Linked DNA regions of Homo sapiens: region 1 is linked to region 2. Evidence: promoter capture Hi-C in human tissues and cell types (Jung and others, 2019). All regions are on one chromosome and are shown on one strand. Each heading gives the region's core, a stretch centred on a gene start or on the middle of the fragment in contact. The rest is flanking DNA. Distances are from core to core; before and after follow the strand shown. Region 1 has its middle 3.6 kb from the start of MTUS2. Region 2 holds the start of FLT3 (fms related receptor tyrosine kinase 3).

Region 1 (5,325 bases), core at 1,716-4,215, 720 kb after region 2:
AAAGAAAATACAGTAGGGTCAACAAAGTCAAAAGCTGGTTCTTTAAAAAGACAAAAAGGAGACAAACTTCAGGCTTAATGAATTAAGAAAACAAATATTAAGAAAAAAGTCACATCTAAACAATATTAGAAAAAAATGGCTGTAACTATAGAAGTAGCAGGTATTTAAAACGAGTAAGAAAATACTATGAAGAGAGCACTGCAATGACGATATATATATATAAACAACTCCATGCTAGTTGTGAAGGATACAGAACTGTCCCTTAAAGGAAGGACTCGCCTCAGCTCTTGGCAATGCTGTGAGCAGATTGTCTTGGGCCGTCTACTCCTTGTGTTTGCCTCACCTGCAGAGAGCCCCCTCGCCCAAGAATACACCTTCCCTGGAAAGTCCATAGCCAATGGTGGATCTGGTAGGGACATAGAGACCTTAACCATTCAGCCCACCCTGGGACAATTCTGAATGAGTCCTACATGTAGCAGTGTGCATGTAAATGTTTAATAACGGGCTCCTTTAAGGAAAACATCCTGATTTGCAGTGTTTGCTAATTTCTGTGGTGAAAATACATCCTCCATAGATGGTTTCAAGCTACCAAAGTAGTATCACTAAATGTGAAGTTGGGAATAGATGCAAAATAGTACACTACTACATAGTATTTCCATCATACAGCTATGCCAGTGGTAAATAAACTCAACACTGGCCAGGGGGAGGTGGCTTACACCTGTAATCCCAGTACTTTGGGAGGCACAGGTGGGAGGATCGCTTGAGATCAGGAGTTCGGGAGCAGACTGAGCAATATAGCAAGACCCGGTCTCAATTAAAAAAAGAAAAACAAAAAAACCTCAACAGTGTACTTTACTGCTCATGTAGTAATTAGGGAAGGATGAGTTTTGAGTATTCACTTTGTTTTCAATAAATAAATGTAATTGTAGGTTTATATAATTTAATCTTTAATAATGGCTGTTTTAACAACCAATTCACAAAAATTTAACAAGTGATGCTCAGGAGCTGGTAGGAGCAGGCTCAGCACACCACTCTGTATGTGCTCCAGGACTTCTTGTGGTTAGGACAGCGGCTTTGTTGGACTTGAATCATGGTTCAAACTCTCCCTCTGTCCAATCCTGGCTCCCATCCCTTCCCAGAGGCCCTGACCCCTAATACCTACCTTGCTCTCTGGTACATCAGTTGGCTACCCAAGTGTTATTCATGACTTGCAAACGCCACTCTATTCTTTCTTCCTCAGGCTTTTCCCACTGGCATTTCATCATTTTGGAATTTCACAAGGCAGATGCCTCTGTTCTACCCACATGCTCCTCAGTCTAGTAAGGCCCTGGGAAAAGGCTCCAGCAGACACCTGTGCTGCCCTGCACATCTCCTTGGCTCCCTCTCAGCCATAGTTCTGATGGGTGCTCCCTGTGAGTTGACAATGTCTTATCTCAAGGATGCGGCTATGGGTCACTCTGATTCTCTGCCTAGAGCCTTTTCTAAAGCACTAGGCGCCTTTGGGAGTTAAAGCTCCACAGGCAATTCCAATCAATGGAGAACAGGAGCCCAGAGGGTAAATGCTCGGCCCTGTGTCTTTGAAATGACCATTGTAAGCTCCTCAGAGATCCAAGTGGTATTATGTCCTTGTGTGCCTGTTACATATAACAGTGGCCTTGAGAATATACTTTTAAGTTGCCTTTCATACTTCTCTGTCTTAACATCTCAATTTCATCATTCCTGCTTCCTGAGATCACCTTCAAAAATAAACTATCTAGCTGGGCGTGGTGGCTCACACCCGTAATCCCAGCAGGATTGAGAGGCTGAGGTGTGTGGATCACGAGGTGAGGAGTTCGAGACCATTCTGGCCAACGTGGTGAAACCCCATCTCTACTAAAAATACAAATATTAGCCGGGCACGGCGGCGGGCGCCTATAATCCCAGCTACTCAGGAGGCTGAGGAAGGAGAATAACTTGAAGCCGGGAGGTGGAGTTTGCAGTGAGCCGATATTGCACCACTGCACTTCAGTCTGGGCAACAGAGCAAGACTCTGCCTCAAAAAACAAACAAACAAACAAAAAACAATAACAATTAACTATCTGTATCCAAGTCATTCTACCAGTCTCTGCTTTGGGAAGGAATCTACACTACGATACTTGATACACTATGATACTTGCTGATCATATATATATATATATATATATATATATATATATATATATTTAATTCAAGAGAACATTCTACTCTTCCTTTCACAGCTTTTTTTTTTTTTAATTTAATTTGGCTGGGCGCGGTGGTTCATGCCTGTAATCCCAGTACTTTGGGAGGCTGAGGCGGGCGGATCACTTGGGGTCAGGAGTTCGAGAACAGCCTTGCCAACATGGTGAAAACCCATCTTAACTAAAAATACAAAAATTAGCCTGGATATGGTGGCATGCACCTGTAATCCCAGCTACTCGGGAGGCGGAGGCAGGATAATAACTTGAACCTGGAGGTGGAGGTTGTGGCGAGCTGAGATTGTGCCACTGCACTCCAGCCTGGGTGACAGAGTGAAACACCATCTCAAAAAAAATTAATTTTATTTTAGATTCAGGGGGTACATGTGCCTGTTTGTTACATGAGCATACTGGAGATTGGGCTTCTAGTGTACCCATTACCCAAACAGTGAACACTGTACCCCATAGGTAATTTTTCAGCTCTCGCCCCCTGCCCACCCTCCCCTCTTTTGGTGACCCAGTGTCTATTATTTCCATCTTTATGTCCATGTGTACTCATTGTTTAGCTCCCACTTATAAGTGAGAATGTGTGGTACTTGGTTTTCTGTTTCTGAATTACTTCACTTAGGATAATGGCCTCCAGCTCCAGCCCATGTCACTGCAAGAGACATGATTTCATTCTTTTTGATGGCTGCATAATATTCCATGATGCATTAATATATGGACCACATCTTCTTTATCCAGTCAACTGTTCATTGACATTCAGGTTGGCTCCATGATTTTGCCATTGTTCTTTTCACAGTTTCTAAATACAGCATAACCAACTGTTAAAATAAGACTTATCTTGGAATGCTGCCAGGTGGGCCAATAGATAACTATGACAGTTTGGGACCTCTGAAAAGCAGATGTCAAGATAGGATTAGATGTGCCAAAATATTTTAAAGAAAACACCTGTGCAGGATAGTGCAGGAGGGAGAAGGAGCCTGGCATGCAGGTGAGGAGTGCCTTCTGACTGCAATACAGGTCTGACACTTGTGAATGGAGAGAGGGAAGGGAAGAAGATTGGGTAGGAAGAGCTCCAGACTGCAGCACATTCTGAGAAAGCCCTGGTAGGGTGGTAGGAATTCCAGAGCAAAGACTGCCCACTAGAGGCAGAAAGGGCATAGCTCTAGCGCTCTCACCATGTTCCGTTGTGAGCTGGAAACAGCTGGGGAATGTGTGACCTTGGTATGAGCTCTGTGGTGGATCCAAATGTGTGACAGCTGAAGGCTGTCAGTTGCTCAAGCTTCCAAGATCTCAGGGGATCACCTCCCTCCATGCCACCACACAGATAGGTATCCCCACACATAAATCCATATAAATGGAGGTATTGGACCATCTTTGTAGGATTTGCTAAGTTGGGGTTCTGCCACCTTCAGACCAAATTGAAGGAAAGGAGAGAGCAATCAAGGGAGAAGATGAGAACGACACGGTGCTGACAGGGAGAAGGAGGACCCACCCACTTCATGCAAAGAAAGGCATGCTTCCAAAGAACTACTTGGAGAGCCTGGCATGTGTCACCTGGAGTGTGGGGACATGCATGAACCCAGAGATGGCTGAGAAGCTTCAAGGAAAGAGGCCGGTCAGAGTTACCTGTGACCAGAGAAGAAGAAAAGAGAACTGCAGTGACAGTGGCCTGCACTTCTATAGCGTGATGGGCCAAATGCCAGTTGGTGTCCGTGGGTCAGCACGCACGTGGTGGAAGGTAGCTGGGACTGACTGCCAGGGCATGGTGCCTTGCAGAGGGCCTGAATGAGGCTGACCACCAGTGAAGCTGAGGCTGAAGTTGCAGGGTCAGAACCCCACCCTGCCCAACTTGAGAAACCAGTGTTTTTTTTTTTTTTGAAACGGATCTCGCTCTGTCGCCAGGCTGGAGTGCAGTGGAGCGATCTCCGTGAACTGCAACCTCCACCTCCCGGGTTCAAGCGATTCTCCTGCCTCAGCCTCCGAGTAGAGGAGCCTAGAGGCATGTGGCACCATGTCCAGCTAAACTTTTTGTATTTTTCATAGAGACGGGGTTTCACCACGTTGGCCAGGATGGTCTCGATCTCTTGACCTCGTGATTCATCCACCTCGGCCTCCCAAAGTGCTGAGATTATAGGCGTGAGCCACCGCATCCGGCTTCTTTTTTTGACAGAGGCTTGCTCTGTCGCCCAGTTGGAGTGCAGTGGCATGATCTCGGCTCATTGCAACTTCCACCTCCCAGGTTCAAGCAATTCTCCTGAGGAGATGGAATTGCAGGTGCACGCCACCACACCCAGCTAATTTTTGTATTTTTAGTAGAGACAGGGTTTCACCATGTTGGCCAGGCTGGTCTCGAACTCCTGACCTCAAGTAATCCACCGGCCTCAGCCTCCCAAAGTGCTGGGATTACAAGCGTGAGCCTCCGTGCCCGGCGGTGGAACCCGTCTTCACAGAGCTAGCTGGGGAGAACACAGAAGCAGGAAGCGAAGGTCGTTTTCCTCCTCCTTGCAGGCTTCTGAGCTTGGGTCAGGTTGGGGTCTGGTGGGTGGTGGGAGGCTAGTGGGGAAGGCTTGAATGGATTGCGATTAAAGTTTTGATTTGGATTGGGCTGGACTTTTTATTATCAGCAAATCTGACTGTTTATGAACACCTGAAAGTGACAGGAAAAGCTATGAAATTTGCCCCAGATTCTTCCAGGGGAGAAGGGAGAGCTTCTGGAATAATTTTTAAAGACAGTGGTCTGAAAAAAAAAAGTGCCATTTCATGATTTCCCTTCACCAAGTAGTCCAGTTGGTTAAAAAAAAAAATTAACTGTCATAAAGTATTGGTTAACACAGTGGTTTGGAAAGACATCCCCTAAAAACAAAAAACGCCAACCTAAATAGTGCAAAGACCAGCAACATCGTTTCATCTTTATAATGGTAAATGTTTATTCCATTGCTGTTTGAATCAGTCTGCAGAAGTCCTCTGGTTTCGCTTGCCTTTTCAAACCTCCAGGTGCACCGCGTGAGGGAGTCTGAGCATTTCAGGTAGGACTGGAAAAAGGTCTTTGAGAAATCATTAATTAATCTATTTACCTTACCATAAGAGCAGTCAAGGCTCGCTGGAACCCCTCGGACAGTGGGGA
Region 2 (5,865 bases), core at 2,045-4,544:
TCAATTAAAGTTTGTTAAATAAAAACAGATTTTTTCTTCCTAATGCATGTTTTCTCTTCATTTTTCTTATCTGAAGTCTTCCCTTGGAATATAAGTAAGTCTTCCTCCTTCCCATTTAATATCTCATTGCCTGATTGTTTTTCAGTTTAAACAACAGGAGAATCCAATAACAAATATTTACCAATAGCTAAGAGTTACTGAAAGTGCCTTCTTAGTTATAAAAAGTTAATCCATTTTTAATGTAAGGCAAGAAGTTCACAATTAAACCTAAGAGGATAATTTACTATAGATAGACGTGAAGTACCTAAAAAGAAATGAATATCCAATCTACACCTATATAATGGCAAAAATTAGAACTAGAGTTTCAGAGTCAGAGGGGACATTAATGTCAGGTCGGCAGGTCTGGGCTCACATCCAATCCAAACCAAGCTTTGCTGAGTGTCCCTTCCCTCCACTTTCTCCTGAATCATTCCCCCTTGGGCTAGGAGTTTCCAAGAAGGCAAATAAACTAAGATAAGCAACAAGAGCAAAGAATGGCAACTCAAATGTGCAGTTCAAGGCTTTGAATACGAATTTTTTTTAACACTAATGAAAAAGGTAGTATCATAGCTCTTAAAATATTGAAATACTTCTCTCTGTCCAGTATCAGCAGATAATGCAGAAAAGCCCATTGGGAACATGTTCCTCTCCTTCAAATGCCACTTAGAAAGCTTCATCATTATTCATAAATGATGAATAGAAGTCTGGGCATGGCCGGGTGTGGTGGCTCATACCTGTAATCCCAGCGCTTTGGGAGGCTGAGGTGGGTGGATCGCCTAAGGTCAGGAGTTCGAGACCAGCCTGGCCAACATGGTGAAACCTCGTCTCTACTAAAAATACAAAAATTAGCTGGGTGCGGTGGCACGCACCTGTAATCCCAGCTACTCAGGAGGCTGAGGCAGGAGAATCGCTTGAACCTGGGAGGCGGAGGTTGCAGTGAGCTGAGATCGCGCCACTACACTCCAGCCTGGGTGACAGAGCAAGACTCCGTCTCAAAAAAAAAAAAAAAAAAAAAAGTAGTGTTTACAATATAAGGGAAATTGGGATCCCATGTTCTAATTCAAAGAATTTAAGGCTATTAACCATTTTAAAGTTCTCATGTTTAAGCTTCTCACTTTATCCTTCTTTATTCAAGAAAATCCATAATACAAAGTATTGGCAAAGATGTGAGGAACTGGAACTGCCATACACTGCTAGTGGGAGTGGAAATTGGTGTAACCACTGTGGAAAACCGTTTGACGGTATCTACCAAACCTGAACATATCCCTTCCCTATGATCCAGGAATTCTACTTGTGGGCATAATCCTTTATACTGGTGTTTATGTCCACCATATATAAAACAATGTTCACAGCAGTGCTATGCATAATTACACAAAATTGGAACAACTTCCATGTGCTTCGTGAACATAATGGATAAAATAAATTATAAGATCTATTCATACCACGGAATGGTACCAGCAATTAAAAAAAAAAACACTGCTACAGAGAACAAGGTTGAATCTTATTATTATAATGTTGAGTAAAAGAAGGTGGACATAAAAGAGCACACGATGATGGTTTGGTTTACATGAAGTTCAAACATAGGCAAAAGCAATCCATGGCATCAGAAGTCAGAATAGTGGCTACCTGGGGAGGGGGTACTGACAGAGAGGGTGGAGCTAGAATTGCTCTATATCTCAGTCTGATCGTGGTTATTTGGGCACGTACATATGTGAAAACTAATGAAATTGTACTCTTAAGATGTGTGCATATTTACTGTGTGCCAATTATACTTCATTTAGAAATATCTGGAGAGAGAGACATAGAAATTTCTGAATTCTTTCCTAAATAGAAAAGAATTCCATGCAGCTTAAATATCGTTGCAAGTATTGATGCTTATACCTTTAGAAAGCCCATTATGCTTCTGAAAAATGCACTTACTACTTAATATCATACATAATAGAAAGCTAACATTTTGTATTAACGGAATCTGGAAAACATATTGTACTACACATTTGAAATTACAGATTTACTAACTAGTAAAGATAACTATTTAAGAACTAAAATGTCTTTGTTTTTCAACTCTTTTCCCCCGATTTCCATTTTTTACTTTTTATATTTCAGAATTATTTGTAACAAAAGCTATTGGATATAATTCCTGCACTTCTATATTGCAAGCATTTTCTCTATTTACCACAGAGACTTCAAGTCCTAGCATTTCAGAGCTGAAGGGGACTCGGACGGACTCCCTCACTGCACAGATGAGGACGCGGAGGCCGGGGGAGGTGAGTGTCAGTCCCAAGGTTGCAGACCTAGGACAGGGACCGGAGCTGCCGGGCACCCAGAACTCTGTCGCCTTCAACCCAAATTCGATTCAGTCCTCTCATCTTTCCAAATAGAAAGCTGACGCGAACCGATGGGAAGATTTTTTTTTTCAATAACAACTATGCTACCCAGCAGATTCTTTGGGGACAGTCCTCGGAGTCCTTGAAAACCCCTTTGGGGTTTATGCCAGGATAAGAAGAGACTAGAAGAAAGGGACAGCTAGTATTTTAATATGTAAATCTGTTTGCATAATATTTCCTAGGTAAACTATTCGTTGATCCAACCAAAATTCGGCGGGGCTGGGGGGTATCGTTATTGAGGATGACTCGCTCTAGGGGAGAACGCGGACGCATTTTCCCATCAGAGTTCCCTCCATAAATCAAAACCTCAAAAGAAGAGTTAAAGACGACACCCAGGTGTCTACAGTATCCAAGGGCCGGGCCAGGAGAGGTCCTTGGCCACCTGGCGCCGAGTTCGCGGCCGCAGACTCCCACGGACGGCCCAGCACCCGAGCGCGCGGGCCGAGCTGCCCCAGACCCGGCGCAGCGCCTCGGCGAGGCCGTCTGCGAAGTCCGGGCCGCCACTCGGGACCGCGGCCCGAGCCAGAGGAGAGACTTCGGAGAAGAGGGAAGAGGACGCGGGGTGGGAAACGCCGGGGCCGCAGGCAAGTAGTGGGCGAGTCCGGAGGGCGCGAAAGAGGGGAGGGGCGCGGGAGGCAATGGAAGGAGCGAGCGCGGGGAGGAGCGAGGCGGCTGGGCCGGAGGAGGCGCGCGCCCGGGTCCACACTGCGGGGTGGGGGCTGAGGGACCGCGAGGGGCTGCGAGCGAGCGAGCGGGGCCTTACCGAGCAGCGGCAGCTGGCCGCCGTCGCGCGCCAACGCCGGCATGGCCTCCGGAGCCCGGGGTCCCCAGGCCGCGCCGGCCCAGCCCTGCGATGCCGCCTGGAGCGGCGCGCCTCGCGCTGCAGGTGGCTCTCTTAAGGATGCGCGTCACCGACCGCAAATTCCCTCGGACTGGTGCAAAGTGGAAGGGGGGAGGAACCCTCTCCCCAGAGGCAGGGACCGAGGCGGGAGCGGAGAGGTTGGGCAGAGCCGAGCAGCCGGTGCCTGGCGCAGCGCTGCAGCCGAGCCCACGTGCCCGCCGCGGTCCGCAGCCTGTGCTCGGCGGCCCCCGGGGCTCCCCGACTGCGGCGGGGAAGATTGGGCGCGGTCCCGCCGGAGAAGTTGCACTGGCTCCGCGGCTCTGCCGCCTTGCTGCCCCTGTGAGTCCCCGAACTCTGTCGTTTGGATCCGGGGCGTGGGGACTGCAGGGAGCCACAAACCACCCTCCTAGTGCGCTGGGATCTTTGAGGCCCTGAGAAAGGCGCTGAATCCGCTCGGCACGCTGGCAACTCCCGCCAGCGCACAGGCGAGCATTCCATTAAGAACCATTCCATTCTTAATTGTGGACTGATTTCCTTTGTCTCTGCCTCCATCTCCTAGGATGCTCAGGACCCAGTCAGCGGCGGGATCAAGAAAAACAGGCAGGGTTTCAATGTCAACCAAGGCAATTAGGGAGGTTAACAAACAGCCTTCAAAACAAAACACACAGAAAATACATCCCAGAGGATGTTGCGAATCATCCGCTCAATAGTTCTTGTTCTTCATCGCATAATTTTTCGAGTTGAAAATTATTATTATTTTCTTTGCAATAAGTTGAGGATTGGAAAGCTCTGGATGCCAGTTCTGGTTCTTCCCTTACTTAACTAGCCGTTTGACCTCCACAAACCTCTGTTTACTCATCGTAAAGGAAAGGGATGGACCAAATGGTTCATAATGTCTCTCCCAATTCTAGGAATTCCACGCTCTTAATTATTTTAATTATTTTCTAATAAAGCATGAAAATTGACTGTTTACTCTTGGCCATACAGTTCTTTTCCTTAGATGTTGTCTACAGTACAATAATTCTTTCCCCTAGGGTATGGCAGAAACTTTAGAAGTGTCTACCATGGTGCAGCCACTATGGAAAACACTATAGAGGTTTCTCAAAAAATTAAAAAAAATACGGTCCAACAATTCCATTTCTGGCCATGTAGCCAAAAGAATTGAAAGCAGGGTCTTGAAGAGATGTCTGTACACCCGTGTTGAAAGCAGCATTATTCACAGTAGTCAAAAGGCAGAAGTAACCCATGTCCACAACAGATGAATGATAAACAAAAATGCAGTATATACATACGACTGAGTATTTTTCAGCTTTAAAGAGGAGGGAAATTCTGATACAGCTAAAATATGGATGAATCTTGACATTATGCTAAGTGAAATAAGCTAGTCCCAAAAAATACAATACTGTATCCCATTACAAATTCATAAAGACAGAAAGTTAAATGGTGGTTACCATGGGCTGGGGGCAGGGGGAAATGGGGAGCCAGTGTTTAATGGATACAGAGTTTCAGTTTTGCAAGATGAGCAGAGTTCTGGAGACTGGTTGCACAACAATGTGAATGTACTTAACGCTACTAAACTGTACACTTAAAAATGGCTAAGGCTGGGTGCGGTGGCTCATGCCTGTAATCCTAGCACTTTGGGAGGCCGAGGTGGGCAGATCACCTGAGGTCAGCAGTTCGAGACCAGCCTAGCCAACATGGTGAAACCCCATCTCTACAAAAATGCAACAATTAGCCAGGCGTAGTGGCGCATGCCTGTAATCCCAGCTACCTGGGAGGTTGAGGCAGGAGAATCACTGGAACCCGGGAGGCAGAGGCTGCAGTGAGCTGAGATCACACCACTGCACTCCAGCCTGGGTGACAGAGTGAGACTCTGTCTCAAAAACAAAAACAAAAACAAAAAGTTAAGATGGTAAATTTTATGTATGTGTATTTTACCTCAATTTTAAATTTTTTAAGTTTTTGTGTAGCTGCTGGGGGTTTAAAAATTTTTTTAAAGAGTGTTGTGTCTACCTTAGGTCAGAAACAGAAGTGAAGGAAGATGGCCTGAAATAAGTGAAACATGAGGAGATAAAGCAATGAAACAGGCTGGTTATGGGGAGAAAAGCGAGCTTCCAATGGCCAAGACCTAACACACTACCTTCTATTTAAAGCTCAATTACTGTCTTAAAGGAAACTGATTGGCTGGGCGCTGTGGCTCATGCCTGCAATCCCAGCGCTTTGGGAGGCCAAAGCGGGTGGATCATTTGAGGTCAGGAGTTGGAGACCAGCCTGACCAACATGGTGAAACCCCATCTCTAACAAAAATACAAAAATTAGCTGGGCATGGTGGCACTGTAGTCGTAGCTACTTGGGAGGCTGAGGCAGGGGAATTGCTTGAACCCAGGAAGCAGATGTTGCAGTGAACTGAGATCATGCCACTGCACTCCAGCCTGGGCAACAGAGCAAGACTTGGTCTTCGCCGGGCGTAGTGGCTCATGCCTGTAATCCCAGCACTTTGGGAAGCTAAGGCAGGTGGATCACGAGGTCAGGAGTTCAAGACCAGCCTGGCAAAGATGGTGAAACCTGTCTCTACTAAAAATACAAAAAATTAGCCAGGCG

What was found. Contacts are between HindIII fragments. The study calls those that stand out against the background at their distance.
Region 1: a fragment that was not itself captured here is called in contact with the fragment with the promoter of FLT3 in region 2 in 1 of the 25 tissues and cell types used here (spleen).

What each region holds. Positions count from the first base shown.
Region 1 is chr13:28,814,046-28,819,370 of GRCh38, forward strand. No RefSeq gene overlaps it. Among named protein-coding and RNA genes, the nearest start is that of MTUS2, 3.6 kb to the right of the region's middle. The HindIII fragment of the contact is 3,226 bases long and covers 1,353-4,578 here.
Region 2 is chr13:28,097,282-28,103,146 of GRCh38, forward strand. It overlaps FLT3 (fms related receptor tyrosine kinase 3), which reads right to left and starts at 3,295. Exons shown (of 24, transcript NM_004119.3): 1 at 3,187-3,295. The coding sequence starts at 3,229. RefSeq lists silencers at 3,129-3,288, 3,409-3,468 and an enhancer at 3,579-3,708. The HindIII fragment of the contact is 18,739 bases long and covers 929-5,865 here.